3 separate regions of the Homo sapiens genome follow, and all the other regions are linked to region 3. The links are contacts of gene promoters, found by promoter capture Hi-C in human tissues and cell types (Jung and others, 2019). All regions are on one chromosome and are shown on one strand. The core of a region is centred on a gene start or on the middle of the fragment in contact, and the rest is flanking DNA. Distances in the headings are between cores, read along the strand shown.

What was found. The method cuts DNA at HindIII sites, captures the fragments that hold promoters and counts their contacts. A contact is called where the count stands out against the background at its distance.
Region 1: a contact is called between a fragment that was not itself captured here and the fragment with the promoter of DACH1 in region 3, in 2 of the 25 tissues and cell types used here (mesenchymal stem cells and spleen).
Region 2: a fragment that was not itself captured here is called in contact with the fragment with the promoter of DACH1 in region 3 in 1 of the 25 tissues and cell types used here (spleen).

Annotation. Positions count from the first base shown.
Region 1 is chr13:71,674,744-71,678,078 of GRCh38, reverse strand. All of the region lies in intron 2 of DACH1 (dachshund family transcription factor 1), which reads left to right. It also overlaps the pseudogene H3P36. Among named protein-coding and RNA genes, the nearest start is that of DACH1, 190 kb to the left of the region's middle. The HindIII fragment of the contact is 7,632 bases long and covers 1-3,335 here.
Region 2 is chr13:71,642,518-71,645,683 of GRCh38, reverse strand. All of the region lies in intron 2 of DACH1 (dachshund family transcription factor 1), which reads left to right. Among named protein-coding and RNA genes, the nearest start is that of DACH1, 220 kb to the left of the region's middle. The HindIII fragment of the contact is 6,494 bases long and covers 1-3,166 here.
Region 3 is chr13:71,865,488-71,868,618 of GRCh38, reverse strand. DACH1 (dachshund family transcription factor 1) reads left to right here and starts at 1,415. Exons shown (of 11, transcript NM_080759.6): 1 at 1,415-2,697. The coding sequence starts at 1,850. The HindIII fragment of the contact is 6,446 bases long and covers 1-3,131 here.

The DNA of each region.
Region 1 (3,335 bases), core at 647-3,146, 190 kb after region 3:
ACTTTGTCCTGTGAAAAGAAAATGGATTAATTTAGACAAATTTATAAATACCTATTGATCGGCTAGGGGGCGGTGGCTGATGCCTGTAATCTCAGCACTTTGGGAGGCTGAGACAGGCGGATCATGAGGTCAAGAGATCTAGACCATCCTGGCCAACATGGTGAAACCCCATCTCTACTAAAAATACAAAAATTAGCTGGACATGGTGGTGGGCGCCTGTAATCCCAAGTATTTGGGATGCTGAGGCAGGAGAATCGCTTGAACTCGGGAGGCAAAGTTTGCAGTGAGCCGAGATCGCACCACTGCACTCCAGCCTGACAACAGAGTGAGACTCTGTCTCAAAAACAAAACAAAACAAAAAACCAAACAAACAACACCTATTGATTCAGTCCTAATCACTTTTATTGTTTCTTTTCAAGAATTGAACATTGGAGTTAAATAATAGTTTTCCCTGGATGCATTTGTTTTCTTAGGAAAAAAAAGACTTTTTTTAAAAAAAATGTATTTTCCCAGTCTTAATATTAAGTATTTAGGTATCTATACTTGAAACAAAAACAAAAACAAATACAAAACAAAACAACAAACTTTGAGATTGCTTGTGGAATTTTTATGTGTTATTTTGGCTGCTTGAGTGGGCTTGTGTGTAACCTTAGAAGGGGTGTGGGCAGATGGTGATAATTTCTAAAAGTTATGGTTGTCACCGGATGCCATAGCAACCAGAAGTTGAAGTTAATGAAAGAAAGAAAGTTCTTTGTAGAGTCACACAAGGCAATACCTCCTGCTGTGGTCACTGCATTTATTTTGACTGAGCACTTGTCATAAATCATTTTTGATAATAACTACCAGTTTGAAATAATTCATCCTAGCAACAGACTTCCAATAACATTCATACTTTTTATAAGATGACGTCTATTTAAAATTAAGAAAGGGGTTATTTAGGAATTCAAAATACTCCCCTCTTGTCCAGGAATGCAATTTGGATAGTGTATTTGCCAACTTTCTGATTTCATCTTTAAGTCAGTATGCAAATTAATTTTGAAATACAATTTTCATAAAAATACTAAGAATTAATTGAGTCCTCAGTATTTGCCTTTGACATATAAAAATTATTTAGTATCTTAAAAATACACTCAAATTAAATGAATGAATGATTTGTAGTTTTGTCTGTTGGATATGTCTTTTCCCTCACTGTGATCTTGTAGACATATAACTAATACGTATTCAGGTAAAGAAAGCAATTCTACACACATACCTTATGCTTAAAAGGTAAGAATTTATAACTTGCAAATTTATCGTTTTGGAAAAAATACTGGACCGGGGCAATATTAATCTAGAATTAATCCCATTGAAACATTCTTATCTTTAAAAAAATTTAGAGAAAAATGTTCTCATGTAGTGAATTCATAAACATATTTCAAATTTAATTTTCTTTTTTTCTACTAAATAGTAAACAGCAACAATATCTAAACAACCTCTTTTGTAATATTAGCATTTGTAATAGTTTAAATGCATTAAACATTTCAACTTCTCAGGAGAAAATTTACAATGTAAAACTGTGCCTAGGCTGGGCACGTGGCTCATGCCTGTAATCCCAGAAATTTGGGGGGCCGAGGCGGGTGGATCACCTGAGGTCAGGAGTTCGAGACCAGCCTGGCCAACATGGTGAAACCCCATCTCTACTAAAAATACAAAAATTAGCTGGGCATGGTGGCAGGTGCCTGTAATTCCAGCTACTCGGGAGGCTGAGGCAGGAGAATCGCCTGAACTCGGAAAGAGGAGGTTACAGTGAGCCAAGATCACACCATTGCACTCAAGTCTGGACAAGAGAACAACACTCCATCTCAACAAAAAAAAAATTGTGCCTTGTATGTTGAGAAGTTTATTATAATAAATGCTCTGTATTTCATTGGGATACTCACAAGTAAGGAGAACACAAAAATGCACAAGTATAAAACAGCCGCAAATTGTTGGATTGTCTTCACTAATAAATTAAACATAACAATCTACTGTATGCCTTACCCAAAGAATAAATCTCATATTTACTATTTAAACACTTGATGTTTATACAATGTTTGTATTTTTTTTATAGTTTAATGTATTTTAATAGCAAACTTACAGGAACAGCACAGAAGACAGACAACATTAAAAACATGTACTTGCATGTAGTACAACTCAGAAAAGTATAGTGAATGGATGGAATCTACTGTATGATAAAAATGCTACAAACACCATTTAGTTGCCGTCAATAAGAAGTTTACTTGTTTTAAAAAAATCCAAATGCTGGCATTGTCCAGAAAAATTTAACAGGTTTATTTATGATTATTATAAAGTTGAACCGCTGAAACTTGTTCACTGAAACATTTTAACTTGCATTAATGCTTTACGTCTCCACATTTATATTAAAAATTCACACACAAATGAAAACGGAAAAACTGCCAATACCTGATTTCTGTCCCCTATTTTTCCACTCGCAATCATAGACTTAGGTACCTTTTGACCCCATGGAAAAAAAATATCTAACGTTCAGAACTACCAATAACAGGAAGAAGAGAAAAAAAAAAATTTTTTTTTTGAGAATGAAATGTTTCCCATCATAGTGGATTCTTAAGCACGTTCTCCACGTATGCGGCGTGCTAGCTGGATGTCTTTTGGCATAATTGTTACACGTTTGGCATGGATAGCACACAGGTTGGTGTCTTCAAAAAGGCCAACCAGATAGGCCTCACTTGCCTCCTGCAAAGCACCGATAGCTGCGCTCTGGAAGCGCAGATCTGTTTTAAAGTACTGAGCAATTTCTCGCACCAGACTCTGGAAGGGAAGTCTGCGAATCAGAAGTTCAGTGGACTTCTGATAACGTCTAACTTCACGGAGCGCCACAGTACCAGGCCTGTTACGATGAGGTTTCTTCACCCCTCCAGTAGAGGGCGCACTCTTGCGAGCGGCTTTTGTAGCCAGTTACTTCCTGGGTGCTTTACCACCGGTCGATTTGCGGGCAGTCTGCTTTGTACGAGCCGTGGTACAGAGACCTCCTTACTTACCCCCCTTCTCTTCGGCTGGAGCTCGGCGAGCGAGAGGCGGCGCTGGCGTTGGAGAGCGACGGCAGCGCGGTGGCGGCTGCGAACACCGTTTGTATGTGTTTTCATATATTTATATATCTAGGAAATATTTGAGAGGTTTGATACTAGACATTTTGTTGAGGATAGCACATTTAACCTATAACTACTTAGTACATGTTCCCTTTGTACTTTTCTTGAAGAGAAAAATTAAAGGGTATGTCTTCTTTTTTTTTTCCTTTTTGTAAGGCCCACCTAAACTTTAGACTTCATCATGCAATT
Region 2 (3,166 bases), core at 140-2,639, 220 kb after region 3:
GTGTCTGTCTAGCAAAAACACTAGTCGGAGTTACTGTCTGCACTTTTAATAAATCCTTTGAATTCCCTTGATCTTTCCTTATTCTTATCCTCCCTGTGTACTGTAGCACAACTTTCCCAAGCCCATAAAAATCTGATTAATGGAACAAAGAATTAGACTTGAGATACCTGCTTTTGTTACTCTCCCATGCTTCTCTGACCTTGAGATCACCTTCTAAATGTACCTCAGGCTTTTTCTCTTAAAGAAGAGTAAATGAGATGATTGAAATTATAAACCATGACCACTCTTGCTATTACTAAATCGTTTACGCACATACATGCAACTTGTCATTCACTTATGTACATTCTAAACTACAGTGTTTCGTTCTAGAAAGTAGTTGATATTTCTGCATTTTTCTTCACCTTTTTCTTCTTAAGCTCCCCAGTTATATGCCTATGTCAAAATTATGCAGTAAATAAAGAGGGGGGAGAATCATGTTTATCAATTGCTCTTCCGACAATGCTTCCCCTCCTAAACTTGGAGTAGCACTTTATGGTTTCTTGCGTAAAATCAAACCTGCTCGTTGATTCTAAAACCCTCTACTAATTTAATGAAAACCAATTATTCCAACTTGCTTTGGATTCTGGTATCTAGGCTTAACCACATTTTTCGAAACACCGTGTTTGTATCCTTAATATTCTATGAATAAAACTTGATTTTTTTTTTCCATTCATGATTCAGGTTAGATGGTCTCTTCTCAGAAGTCTCCTTTACTATTCTTGGCAAATACAGAAAAGAAACAGAGCTGCTGCTATAAACCTGCTCCATCCTTGACCCCAGAAGAACTCATTGCCTTCCAGCTGTGCAGAGTGCACTTCTTAGTAGGGAGCCTGGTCTTGCTTTCACCTGGTGCTGCTGGTGTAAGCAGCCATCATGTTCAGATTCAAAGGTGGCCAAGATAGCATCCTGGGGACATGTCCCTGGAATGAAGTAGAGCCCCAGTTCTGTCCAAATGCTGCTAGGTGGAATAGGGTTGGGTGCCCTGCTGAGAGCATTGTGATTTGTGGATAGAACCTGGCAGAGAGGGCCCCGTTAGTACAGAGCCAGCTCTCTTTCCCCTTTTCTTGCGGAAGATCTGAGGTATGATGCAAAACATTGCTTCTTCCTTGTCTCACAGTTTATATGAACTCTGTTGGTGACAGGAGGATCTACCTTATTTATACTGTGGCGTGGAAGTGGAATTGAGGCTGTGACAACTTTCATCCTCAACACAGTGCCAGCTGAAAAAGTGGATGTAGTTGAGAAGAACTCAGTTCGTTTACTTCTCTAGAAAATACTGATATAAAAACTACACATAGACCATTCATTTTTGGTTGAGAATATTAGCTAAGAAGATAAAAGTGTTCCTTTCAAAAATTTTAATTGTATATCAATTAATTATTTTGCTACTAGCATTTCTGATGACAGAGGAAGGATTTCTGCGTTAAAACAGGTCAGATAATACATAGATACTGTTTTATTTACAATGCATTTAATTAATATCAAAACTACAGTTGACTTTGTGCAATAATGACAAGATTATAAGGCATTATGTTGTGCTAAGCAGGAGACTACAATTTAAGAGTTAGTCTTTTCGGGAAGAAAACATGTCCCCCTCCTCCCTTTTGTAGTTTTACGTTGAGCTAGAGAGATTGTTTTCTAAGATTCAACACCTAAAGAAAGCATTTTTTTAATATTGTTCAAAGCTGACCTCTGCTTTTAGAAAAGTTTATCTGCACTTTTTCATCTGTTTAGAAACATATATTTTTGGTTAAGAGATCGAAGACAATCTCTCTTTGTCTTTTTTTTTTCTTCTTTCCCTGAGCTAGGAAGGTTGAGATAAAAAAGAATGACTGCTTTAAAAGTCACACATGGCTGTAATTTAATATTTTTTTCCTCTCATTGTCCGTAACAGTTGAAAGAAACCTTCAATGAAAGTTTATTAACTAGGCCAATGCCTGAGGCAATAAAGGTTCATTTATTACCAGTTTCTTGGCTGTTTTTCTTCTTCTATTTTTCGGTTAAACTCATAGCGTAAGATAATACTTCACAAAATTAAACCTTTGACCTTCTGTAGAGTTAAGTCTCCTTTGATTAGATAAAGTAACAATTTATGGTCCAGCATGAGGTTGCACATGAAATGAATAATGCAACAGACTCCGTGTGGACTGAGAATCTATTGCTTTTGAAAAGATGAATGCTGTTTAAAGGGGAGAAAGTCCGCTTAAGTGTGTTGTCTTTATTCAGTATGCACTTTAGCAATATTTCAAAAGGCTTTACCTCCAAGATAAAGTTATGTTTGAATTTTCTAATTCTCATAAGAAAGATGTATGGTAAGAGTATTGCAAAAAGCTTTTGAAACTCTTTGTAGGACTGTCATACATGTCATTATGCCACATATTCCAGGTATTACAAATGGCTGAATTATGAAATCTAATAAATGCATGAGAAAAATGACCATTGATTTTACAAATGGAGTTCCAAAGGATGGGACAATTAGAATATTGTAATTTCTAATCACATTATGTGCCACTGTGAACATTGCATAAATCAAAATGATATTTAATAACTTCATCTTAAGAAGAAAAGTAACAATAATAAAATATAATAATATTAAACTGAATTTGTAATTTTTTTTTTTGAGATGGAGTCTCACTCTGTCTCCCAGGCTGGAGTGCAGTGGCGCGATCTCTGCTCACTGCAACCTCTGCCTCCCAGGTTCATGCCATTCTCCTTTCTCAGCCTCCCGAGTAGCTGGGATTACAGGCACGTGCCACTATGTCTGGCTAATTTTTGTATATTTTTTTCAGTAGAGATGGGTTTCACTGTGTTGGCCAGGCTGGTCTCGAACTCCTGACCTCAAGTGATCTGCTCGCCTCGGCCTCCCAAAGCGCTGGGATTACAGCCATGAGCCACTGCGCCCGGCCTGAGTTAGTAATTTTTAAACCAATCCATGGGAGTTCAGTCTTTGGTTATTGTGATGTATTAATGTTTGTAGATAACAGCAGTGTTTTCAATTTTGTTTTGTTTAAGTCACCTTATAAATTTGAACTGTCATAACTCATTGACAAAAAAGAGTGACTAGATGTGAAATGTTCAGATATTTCTATTTTTCTATGTTCTTTTGAACATTTTTTGGAAAAGTTAA
Region 3 (3,131 bases), core at 166-2,665:
CTACTAACAGTTTATTTTAAAAATCTGTCAAATGCTAAAGCATTGCTTCATATCTTATGAACTTACTGAACATGTGTGGACCGGTTCAAAGGCTAACTAATTGAAGATACTTGGAGACATGAGCAGCAAATAGATTTGACCCATATTCAAATGATATGTTAGTCAAAAATCCTTGAATAAATACTTCAGTGCAACAAGTTAGAAAAGAAAAGAAAAGGAAAGAGGAAGGAAAGGAGGAATAGAGTCAGTCTAAACTCAGCCTCATGTTGTTTTAAGCACAGCTACCCAAGTCTTTACAAGTCAACTAGTGAGCTTTGTTTTTGTTCTTCCCATTATTTACAAAACATATATTTACTGACAAATTGAAAAGGACTTTCCAAAACTACAGCAGCACTTTTCAAACATGAAAAAAAAAAAAAAAAAACTATTGTGTTGTCCAAAAAACACATTAGCAATTGGCTTTGGGTCTTAAAGGACATGAGGATAGTTGGTTACTGTGTAAGACAGGTGAATTAATTATAGAGTTTTGGGTAAGAAAACCCTTTTTCCACTTTCTAAATCTTCAAGGATACCTTATCTCCTTGATAGCTCTAGGTTTAACAGGTATTTCTGACTGGCTTTTGGGGAGACAGTGAAGTTATTCTAAATCATCCACATCAAGGCAAGCATTTCTTTCCACAACCTATTAGGAAATATGGAATTGAATACAGAGCTTTCCATTATTCTTAAGCGATTTCGGACTGACTTTCTTCTCACCACTTGAAAACTGTCCTGGAATTTTCACTATCTTTATATAAATAAATAATTTAGTAGAGAAATAAACAATCAGATGCAAAAGAACATTACGCTTTGCTTACATGTGAATTTTCCTCAAAATAATTTCTGAATAATCGTGAAGTGGGGGCTGTGTTTTCGTTTCTAGCTCATTGCCAAAACGCGTGGAGATGGATCCTAAATCCTGGAAGGAGAGAGCTCGGCGCGCTCAGGCTCCTCTTTAAGTTGGCGGGCGATTGTTTAGAAGCTTTGGAAAAAATTACCAGTCCCCGCGGACGAAATGGAATGTGAGACATGCAATCTAACGGTAGTAGTAGAAGAGAAGTAGATGATCTCCCTCTCCTTTTCCGATCGCCACTTCTGTGTCCCCGGCTTTTCCTCTCCGTCCCTCCCACAGTTTCTTTCCGTATCCTCCCCCTCCCCTCCTCCTTTCCTCGCACGCTCCCTCTCCAGTGTCTCGCGCTCTCGGAGTCTCTGCTCCGAGTTCCTGGTTGGATAATTTGGGTTAATACTAGTGAGTGAGGTTTTTGCGGCTTCAAAGGGTATTTCAAGTTTCCGGAGCTCCTCCCCTCTGCACCGTGTGACAACAACAACTCGTCCAGCCGGCAGCCTGCACTTTTCAGCTCATTTTCTCTCTGTCATTCCCCTCTCAATCTTTGATCAATGTACTTGCCAGGGAGAGCCCAAGTCCTTCAAACCTCCTCCTTTTCACCTTCATCCTTAACTTTGTGCTAGAGCGAGACCCACACAACAACAGCCGACCCTCCCCGCCCCACCCCCACCCCCAAACCAGCCCTCGATCCCAGCCCCCGGAGAGGACTCGCATTTCGACTTGCGGGACACTTTTGTGCGTTCCTCTCCAGAGCGCCTCTCGTGCTCGCCCCTCTTGCGCTCGCTCTTTATTACCTTCACCTCCTTTTCTCCCCCTTCTCTCCCTTTCTCCTTCTCGTTCTCTCCCGGAGTTGTTGTTGCCCCCCTCGCTCCTTCTCCCCCCTTTTTTCCCCTTCCCCTCCCGGGGGTGTGTGGCAACTTTTCCTCTCGCTTCTCCTCCGTCTGTTTCCCCTTATATGTGACCATGGCAGTGCCGGCGGCTTTGATCCCTCCGACCCAGCTGGTCCCCCCTCAACCCCCAATCTCCACGTCTGCTTCCTCCTCTGGCACCACCACCTCCACCTCTTCGGCGACTTCGTCTCCGGCTCCTTCCATCGGACCCCCGGCGTCCTCTGGGCCAACTCTGTTCCGCCCGGAGCCCATCGCTTCGGCGGCGGCGGCGGCGGCCACAGTCACCTCTACCGGCGGCGGCGGCGGCGGCGGCGGCAGCGGAGGCGGCGGCGGCAGCAGCGGCAACGGAGGCGGCGGTGGCGGCGGCGGCGGTGGCAGCAACTGCAACCCCAACCTGGCGGCCGCGAGCAACGGCAGCGGCGGCGGCGGCGGCGGCATCAGCGCTGGCGGCGGCGTCGCTTCCAGCACCCCCATCAACGCCAGCACCGGCAGCAGCAGCAGCAGCAGTAGCAGCAGCAGCAGCAGCAGCAGTAGTAGCAGCAGCAGCAGTAGCAGCAGCAGCTGCGGCCCCCTCCCCGGGAAACCCGTGTACTCAACCCCGTCCCCAGTGGAAAACACCCCTCAGAATAATGAGTGCAAAATGGTGGATCTGAGGGGGGCCAAAGTGGCTTCCTTCACGGTGGAGGGCTGCGAGCTGATCTGCCTGCCCCAGGCTTTCGACCTGTTCCTGAAGCACTTGGTGGGGGGCTTGCATACGGTCTACACCAAGCTGAAGCGGCTGGAGATCACGCCGGTGGTGTGCAATGTGGAACAAGTTCGCATCCTGAGGGGACTGGGCGCCATCCAGCCAGGAGTGAACCGCTGCAAACTCATCTCCAGGAAGGACTTCGAGACCCTCTACAATGACTGCACCAACGCAAGGTGAGTCGGGGGGGATAGCCCCCGCCGCCCGCGCCCCTTCCCACCAGCCTGCTCGCCTGCCCTCGCTCCTTTCCCGGCGCCGCTCGCTCTGCGCGCCCGCGAGCCGCGCGCCCCGGCGAGCGCGGCCCTCTCCTCTCCCTGCTCGGGGCTCGCCAGCCGCGCCCGACCCCCTGAGAAGTTGGCACCTCACCCTGCCCAGACCTCGCTCTTCGGCCCGGTCCTCCCCTTGCCCTCTGGGTCCCGGGGATGGGCTGCTGTGGGATGTGGGAAAGCCGAGCCTCGGGGCGGAGGGGACGAGAGGGAGGAGGACGGCGCCTTTGCTGGAGCCACAGCCCCCTGCCCCGGGCGCGCGGGCGCCTGGAGACCCCTCTCAGCGCTGCTGTCCGCGTTCGTGCGCTCCCCAGGACCTGGGTTCCACGGCCAGCCTCCCGGCA